2 separate regions of the Homo sapiens genome follow, and region 2 is linked to region 1. Evidence: promoter capture Hi-C in 16 types of primary human blood cells and fetal thymus (Javierre and others, 2016). All regions are on one chromosome and are shown on one strand. The core of a region is centred on a gene start or on the middle of the fragment in contact, and the rest is flanking DNA. Distances in the headings are between cores, read along the strand shown.

Region 1 (4,276 bases), core at 71-2,570:
GGCAGAATAAAAGCGAGCTAGTGTGCAACTGGACGCGAGAGGAACGGAGGGGCCCAGGAGGATGCAGATCTCCAGCTTGGGCAACTGGGAGCGTGGTGGACAGGTCACTGAGATGAAGAACCCAAGATAACAATCAGACTTGAAGATAAAGCTCATGAGCTGATTCTTAATAGTCACAGAATTCCCTTAATTTTTGCCTTTTTTTCCCTTCCAAGACTCCCCAGACTTTTTTTTTTTTTTTTTTTTTTTGAGATGGAGTTTCGCTCTTGTTGCCGAGGCTGGAGTGCAATGGCGTGATGTTGGCTCACCGCAACCTCCGCCTCCCGGGTTCAAGCGATTCTCCCGCCTCAGCCTTCCGAGTAGCTGGGATTACAGGTATATGCCACCACACCCGTCTAATTTTGTATTTTTAGTAGAGACCGGGTTTCTCCATGTTGGTCAGGCTGGTCTCGAACTCCCGACCTCAGGTGATTCCCCCGCCTCAGCCTCCCAAAGTGCTGGGATTGCAGGCGTGAGCCACCGCGCCCGGCCAACTCCCCAGACTATTAATGACATCCTACAAAACGAGAAGCCGGGTTCTACGCTTGCACTGCTCCCTGTCCCGGAGACCGCACGCCCGAGCCCACCGAGGGGCCCGCCTCGAGCTCGGCGTCCTCCCAGGTTACCTCGAGCTCAGGGAAGCTGAGCACCACCAGGGAAGCACAAGCGCGGACACTGTCCCCTTTCACGAAGGACACGTCAACGCCCCCGACCCTCTGCAGACCCGAGAAGGCGGGGTCTCGCTGCCACGCCTCGGTGTCCCGGTCTACGACGTGGGCCTTCAGCCGAGCTTGCTCCCTAGGAGGACAGAAGCGTCAAACTTGGTCGGGGTCACACCTCAGACTCTGCCTCCTCCACCCGCGCGGCTGCAGCGGACAGAGCGCCTCTGCCGGGTCTTCTCCCGCTTCAAGGGAAAGCAAGGGACATACCGCCGAGGCCACAGTCCCTAGGAGCCCAGGCGGCGGAGACCCGCGCAAGCGCAGGCCAGACAAACTGGCCGGAAGCGAGAACCGCGCCCACCCCGCGGACTACAATTCCTGAGATCCCTCCGCTTCCGCGCCGGAAACTGGGCTTTGCTTTGGAGTCTCGGGCGGTGGCAGCTCCGATTCCACAGCCTGAAGACTATGAGCTCGGAGGGTCCGCGAAGGGCCGCCCGGCCTCGGCCCCCGCCTCCTGCGCGTCGCCTGACAGCATTACCGTTTCCACAGTGACAGCGTTTCCTCCGGCGGCCCTCCCGCCGCCTCCAGGGCCATGGCTTCGTCCCGGGCACCCCTTCCGCACGTCACTTCCGGAAGCGACTCGCTCTGACGCCGTCCGCCCTCGTTGCCATGGAGACGCTTGCGCTTTCCCGGGCCGCACTTCCCACCCGGGTCTTCAGAAGCCCGTGGCCGCTGGGTGAGCCCCTGCGTGAACGCACACGCACGCACACGGCTTCAGGTTGCCCCGCGGCGCCGCGCGCGATATCGGCTCGGATCCCGGGAGGCCGTCCGCCCCTTTTTCAGCGGATAGCTGAGGCCAGGTAAGTGACCGCGCGAGGACCCGGGAACTCCGTGACGCCCGTCCCGCCTCTGCTGTCCCCGCCGCAAGCGCTGCGCTCTGCACGGCGAGAGGGGCCTCTTGCCCTGTTGAGAGCCGGCGGGCACGGCACTTCTGCGCTTGGAAAAGGGTGGTCCAGCACTGCAGGTCCCACTCCTTGGCCCGGTCAGCGTCCGCCTTTGCTGAACCCCGAAAGGATTCACCAGGTCCAGGACAGCCCGGCAGTTGCCTCAGGAGCACTTACTGAGCGCCTGTCGTTGACGCCCCCACCTCGATGGCAGCTCAGGGGTGCCCTCAAGCTTTTGAGGGCAGGTGTCGTGTATTTAAATTCTTCACAGTTTAGCGGGCTGGACTCACGGGGGTGCTGCAGACTTGGACGGGGTTTCATCTGGGTCGGACCTTGCTGGGCAGAAAGCTTCTCCTACCAGACAAAGTACGGCGACCTTGGGGGGTCTTGGTTCTTACCTCGTGTTCCTCATTGAATGAGTGTTGGTTCAGTGCTCTCGCTGTGCCAGGTGTTGTGCGAAGTACTGTGAGGGAGAATATGTATTTATTTGTGGGGAGCCGACTTTAAACCGGTGGTTGGGAAAGGCCTGAGAGGCGATATTGAAGACACCTGAAGGGTGAGTGAAAGAGCACGGCGGGTGAGTGGAGCAGCTTTCTCGTGCAGGTCCCGGGGTGGGAAAGAGGTTGGTGTATTTGAAGCACTGAAAGGCAGCCACTGAAGCTGAAGTGTAGCAGTTTAACCCATGGTTTTATATTCTCCTGGGAGGATTCAGAAGGGTGTATGTGTGTATGTATATATAATAGCCTGAATATAAACGTCAAGGGTGTTAGGTTTTGAAGGGAAGGTGAAGGTTAAAGAATGACGCACAGTGAGATTGCCGGCGCGCGGGCGGCTCTACAGCAACACAGGTGTATTGCAAACACCTGTCGGGGGCCAGCTTAATGCCAGAGCCCACCAGCGATTACAGGCTGGGGTACTCATAGGCCTGGGCAGGAGGGATCTAGGCAGTATGGCTTGCTGTCCGGGAAGATGTTAACGTGTTCCCAGGATGAGGTGGTTCCGGCAGAATGTGGTGTTCCTGGCGCTTTGTCCCAGCAGAATATGTTAAGAGGCAGGCTGTTTCTCATGGCTCGAACCCCCGTGGAATGTTTCACTTTGACCAAGGTCTACAAAATGGAAAGGGGCTTACAAAATGACGCAGTTTGGACTAACAAAGGGGAAAATACAGAGGATGAAATTAGACTCTAGAGGTTGAGGCTCAGGAAAGGCTTCATACAGCTTTGGGAACTGACAAGGCTTTGAAAGCAGGGTCAGTTTTCAGCGAATGAGCGTCACCCACTGCACCCTGCGCACCCTGCTCCCCTGCTGCGGTGTCTTTCCCACCAGAGTGTAGCAGGACAAGCCGCAGACAAAACCCCTCAGACACCGAGTTAAAGAAGGGCTTTATTCAGCTGGGAGCTTCGGCAAGACTCACGTCTCCAACAACCGAGCTCCCCGAGTGAGCAATTCCTGTCCCTTTTAAGGGCTCACAACTCTTCAGGGGTCTGCGTGAGAGGGTCGTGATTGATTGAGCAAGCAGGGGGTACGTGACTGGGGGCTGCATGCACCCGTAATTAGAACGGAACAGAACAGGACAGGGATTTTCACGGTGCTTTTCTATATAACGTCTGTAATCTATAGATAGCATCACTGATTAGGTCAGGCGTCGATCTTTAACTACCAGGCCCAGGGTGTGGTGCAGGCTGTCTGCTTGTGGATTTCATTTCTGCCTTTTAGTTTTTACTTCTCTCTTTGGAGGCAGAAATTGGGCGTAAAACAATATGAGGGGTGGTCTCCCTTATTCTCCCTCTCTGAGAATCTCACTCAGTAGTGGGAGTTGTCACTTTTATTTTTACTACCTATGTTTTCTTGCAAGACAGATCGATAGTGATTCATATAGTACAGTTGTGCTGAAGCATTTTGGTGAACTAAGGTAGCGATGAAGCTTTTTATCATTTGAAGAAGTATGGGTAGCAAACAAGGGAGCAGAACGCAGGTTTCTATTGCTATTGTAACTCCTAATATAAGAGTTTTAAATCTTTTTAGTGCTGGGAACCATTTTCCAAACATGGCCCCAGGACCAAATCCATGCCACACTTGCACGGGCACATGTGCCAGTTTTGTCATATTTCTAACTGTGTCTTCAACTAATTGCCCTCGATCATCTATGTGTAGACAGCAATTAGTAAGGTTAAATTTTTTACAGACCTCTCCTTCAGCTGCTAGCAAGTAGTCGAGAGCCAATCTATTTTGATAGATAGCATTTCTCATCTGAGTTTCTTGCCAGGCCAGAATAGTCAAGGCTCTGCCGGTCTTATTAGTGATTATTTCTAAGACAGCTTGTAACCGTATGATTCGGTTGAGCATGTAAATGGGGGTCGGGTATCCCTAGGAGCCATCTTGTGCCTAAGTACCAGGCCCATAATATTGTATGATTCTTTCAGGGGGCCATGTATTATCTTTTGAATTTTTTATAGCTATGCTTCTCTTTTTGCGGGAAGCACAGACAGGGAAGCCCAGGAGTTCGCCTGTCTTTATGGGCAGTAGGAAGAAAGATGGTTTAATAGTGCCAATAACATGACTACCTGCCCACTGGTCGGGTAATTTGGTGTAAACTCTATGCCTACATATCCAGTATAATCCAGTGGGGGCTGT
Region 2 (4,662 bases), core at 1,793-4,292, 510 kb before region 1:
CTTGCGCAAACCACTGCCAATTTCAGGTGAGCATTTCTCCCTGCTGGCCCCTTCTGCTCTGCTGCAGGGAACTGGTGCTCATGGTCCGGCTCTCCTTGGAGGCACCTCTTCCCTTCCCTGCTGGGCAACTCACTTCCCCTGCCACCTCAGCTCTCTGATGAGTTCAGGAAAAGTCAGAATTTTATAGCTTTTCTGCCCTTTTCTTATTTCCAAGGTGGGAGTGGTGCTCTTTCCAGCTGTCTGCAGGCGGAGGTGGAACCAGGCTGCGGCTTTTACCAGAGCAATATTTCCCATACGCTTGAGGCCGAAGGAACTGCCCACAGGACCCTCTGCACGTGCAGCCAAGCAAAACCAGGATGAAACTCTCTAAGAATGCACGGTTAGAATAACCACGTATTTAATTTAAACAACACTGAATAATCACAGTGTTCTCTAAAACAAGCCTGTCTGACTTGGCTGATAAACCTGACCCCTGACTGTTTAACACTCAGCAGTAATTTACCAGACAGGCGCTGGCACTACAGCCAAGTGTGGAGAAAGGTGAGCAGAATGGCACTGCACGGTCCCTGCCCCAGCTGTGGGAGGAAGCTGTCCTGCTGCCTCGGAGACTGCGAGCACCAGAGTCCAGCTGGTGGTGGCTGAGTGGAAACAAAGTCAGAGAAGCTACGTCTCCCACTTCCACCCACCAAGTGTGTTCTTCACGCAGCTTCCATCCAAAACCAACGACTTATTCTATTCTGGTCTTCCTGGAGGGGAATCGACCTATCCATTTGCTTTCCTTCTGAACTTTCCAGGAAAGAACAGGAAGCACCCATTTTAGAAGCTGCAGCTGGGGTGGAGCCAGCTGTCCTCCTGAGGCGGGTGAAGCCCACAGCAGACTGAAGTGGATAAGCTGAAGATGAGCTGAGGATGAGCTGGGGATGAGCTGGGGATGAGCTGGGGATGAGCTGGGGATGAGCTGAGGATGAGCTGGGGATGAGGATGAGCTGAGGATGAGCTGGGGATGAGCTGAGAATGAGCTGAGCTGAGCTGGGGATGAGCTGAGGATGAGCTGGGGATGAGCTGAGGATGAGCTGAGGATGAGCTGAGCTGAGCTGGGGATGAGCTGAAGATGAGCTAAGGATGAGCAGGGGATGAGCTGAGGATGAGCTGGGGATGAGCTGAGCTGAGGATGAGCTGGGGATGAGCTGAGGATGAGCTGGGGATGAGCTGGGCATGAGCTGGGGATGAGCTGGGCATGAGCTGGGGATGAGCTGAGCTGGGGATGAGCTGAGGAGCAGCTGGGGATGAGTTGAGGATGAGCTGGGGATGAGTTGAGGATGCGCTGGGGATGAGCTGGGGATGAGGATGAGCTGAACTGAACTGAGGATGAGCTGGGGATGAGCCAGGGATGAGCTGAGGATGAGCCGAGGATGAGCCAAGGATGAACTGAGCTGAGGGTGGCACGAGGGGACTTCTCAGGCTCTGCCTGCTGCAGGTTTATATAAAGAATGTCACACAGAGTGTCATTCTCAGAGGAGAAAAACAAAACAAAACAGAAAAAGTCATTTTTGTGGGAGAATCTATGACAGGATGCTCAATGTTCACTGCATAGTGAGAAAAGCGGGACCGGAAGCCATGCAGGCAGGGCAACCCCAGTGCTGGGAGGGAACCCTGCGTGGGGACTATGGCCATCTCAAGTCGCTCCTTCACTGCCTGAGTTTCTAATGGTGCACTGAAACCCCAGCTGCACAGCCGCAGATCTGATGACGGGCAGTGCAGCTTCCGCATCCACCCTAGAGGAGCAGATGCTCTCAGGGCAAAACAAGATCCCCATGCTCTGCGGAGCCGCCAAACGGAAATCCCCACTGTAGCTTTAAGGGCTGTGTGAAATAAACTGGGTTCTGCGTGTGATGCCTCCCAACAGCGTATCGACTCTTAAAGCTTTTTATAATTAAAAATGGTATTTTAGTCTGTTTTAAATTGCAAAACTAATAACTGTTCTTTCTAAAAAATTCAAATCATCCAGAAGTAAATGATGAAAAAAAGAACAGTCCCCTTGCCTGGCTCCAACTCCACCTTCTAGAAGTCACTGTGTGGCCAGCCTGCTGTGTAACTGGCCAAGCCTCCTCCCGTGCTTGTTCCAGTCTACAGAAGCACAGAGCTCGTGCAAGCATTTTGTACAATTTGATTATTTTACCTTTTGGATCAAGGACATCCAACCAAGTCCTCATAGAAAGATACAACTTAAAGAATTTTAATGGTTGTATAGTATTCTAACCCATGGATCCATCATTTTAAATTAACTCTCCTACTAAGTGATTCTTTTCAACTTTTTCCCATTACAAATCATGTTATCATGAACATCTCCGGGCAGAACCCTTTCATGGACATGTATATTAGTGGTTTTTAAGAATATATGCCTCCTAGCAGGATTGCTGGCTTTGCAGGTATACCCTTTTCTAATCCTGACAGTTACTGCTTAATTGCCCTAAGCAAAGGGAGTACTGGACCCACCCACCAACAGTGTCTGAGAGTTCACATGCCCCTACAGCCTTGTAGGGATTGATTCTCTGGATAGAATCAATTTTTGAAACCTTCCAACTGAGAGAAGAAAAAAGTTGTATGACTTTTGTAATCAGAACACAATTCAATACATCTTTTTCTTTCTTAAGCACACGGCAGACCATTTTTAATATTCTTTTGTGGTTTCTAATGTAGACACGAGCTCCGTAAACCAACATGGGAAGAAAGGAGGTTGCTTCACCAATCAAAGGTGAGCCGCAGACAGAACACGGCTCTTTCTAGTCATACGGACCTGTACGAAATCTGACGGTGAACTAATAAAAACGTTAGCAGACGCTGTCCTTACCACGGTGTCCTTGGATGCTCATCCTGCTAATCGCTAGTTGCATGTCAGTGTAAACTGGTCATTATTTTGTGACCTGGTAACTGTTTTAGTTTCTTATATACCTTGAAGCAGTTTCGGGTTTGCAGTTCTTCTGTTCTTTTTTAGGTTCAATCCTAGCCTTAGAGCTATTTTTAGTTTACATGTGAAGCAGGCTAATAACAAGAAGTTCCTAATGCAGCTCGTTACACAAATGTCATTAGATGATGAATTAAATCAGTAAAAGAATACCTTTATGAATACCACCTAGAAAAAGTAGGAAAACAATTTTTTTTTTAAACAAGAGAAAACACGTCCTGCTTCCTCTTCTGAAGTTTGGAAAAGGTCTCTAATGTTAAAGACACTCCTAAGACTGCAGTTGCTATCAGGAGTTACAGACGACGCCGACCACAACACGGCGCTCTTTTCCATCATGACACCCAGAGCCTGTTGTTTCAACGACAACCAAGTGAGCATTTGTTTTCAAATACTTGGCAGGGGCAGAGGAAGACAATCATTTACTCATTCAGCAACCGTTTCCTGATCAACCTCCTGTGTGATGGCAGCTCCTACATGGATCCCCTTGGACTAATCTCCTCTGCAGTGTCCACACAGCAGGACCTGCTGGCAGGGCCAGACCACAAGGCTGACACCCTCCAGCTCCTCCGTGCGGGCGGGAATTCTCAGATGTGCAAATGGAGGAGATGAGGGCAGGCGGAGGAGGGGCTGCTAATCTGAAGAAAGGGAGAGGAGACGCTGGCTTGGGGCTTGCACACACCGGAACAAATAGACACACACACACAGACACACAGAAACACACAGACACACACACGAGATACACATACACACATACAGAGATACACACACACATCACACAGACAGACACAGGGATACACACACACACATAGAGACAGACAGACAGACAGACAGACAGACACACACACGGCCTTCCACATGCCTCTGGGGAACTTCCTCCTGCAATCAGCTGCTGTGTACTTAAAAATGCTTAGGAAAGGAAAGCAAATCCTTTGGGGAAAAGTCAAATTCATTTTTAAGTTTAAGAGCAATGAGTTTTGGATTATCTATGCCATTCCTCTTTCATCATAGGATAGATGACTGAGAATAGGCATTTTTCAAGGACTTCAAGAAAAGCCTCTCGTTATCACACCAAGAAATTACCAACATGTACAGCCACTGCCATCCCAGCAAGAGCGAAGACCAGACCATGTGGGTTTCTTAGTCGCCTGACCTTGTCTGCCTTAAGCACGAGACCGCATCAAGGACACCAAGCTTGTTAACATTAGACTAAATTCCATTGACTTTTCAACAGACTGGGCCGCAGTTCTAGAGGACGGCCTGGCACCCCTGGCACAGTGTCCAGCCACCTCCCAGCTCTGGCTCACTCAGAGTTTGGGTGGCTCCTGCTTCCTGCATCCAATTCCAGGATTTGTGTATGCTTTCCTTTCCTAACCAGAAGCCTCCTAGTGATGGGAAGGGGCACTTCCCTCTGTCTGCAGGGGCCGCCACCCTCATGCCACCCGCAGGTAAGCAGCGGTGAGCCCAGCAGGTGGGCCTGGTGAGGGGCTTCTGACTAGGACTGAATCCACCAGCCTCAATGATCTCCTGGGGTTTGTTTCTTTGATTCTTTTCCCCCGACTCTAAAGGTGCTTCGTGCTTAGTGTAGAAACTGCAGAAGAGGCACAAAAGAAGCCCAATTCAGTGCAGTCGTGGGTGGCGCCATTTGCGAATCTCTAGTTAGGAGCGGGCTCTGCTGGTCTCCGTCGTATGCACATCTG

Evidence for each region. Contacts are between HindIII fragments. The CHiCAGO score rates a contact against its expected background, and 5 or more counts as called.
Region 2: a contact is called between a fragment that was not itself captured here and the fragment with the promoter of ENDOV in region 1, in 12 of 17 cell types (endothelial precursors, M2 macrophages, activated CD4 T cells and 9 more). The highest score is 12.8, in endothelial precursors.

The regions. Positions count from the first base shown.
Region 1 is chr17:80,412,211-80,416,486 of GRCh38, reverse strand. It overlaps ENDOV (endonuclease V), which reads right to left and starts at 1,320. Exons shown (of 10, transcript NM_173627.5): 1 at 1,237-1,320; 2 at 666-837. The coding sequence starts at 1,292. It overlaps RNF213-AS1 (RNF213 antisense RNA 1), which reads left to right and starts at 1,319. Exons shown (of 2, transcript NR_029376.1): 1 at 1,319-1,558. RefSeq lists an enhancer at 798-887. The HindIII fragment of the contact is 3,926 bases long and covers 1-1,876 here.
Region 2 is chr17:80,926,748-80,931,409 of GRCh38, reverse strand. All of the region lies in intron 24 of RPTOR (regulatory associated protein of MTOR complex 1), which reads right to left. Among named protein-coding and RNA genes, the nearest start is that of CHMP6, 63 kb to the left of the region's middle. The HindIII fragment of the contact is 2,233 bases long and covers 1,926-4,158 here.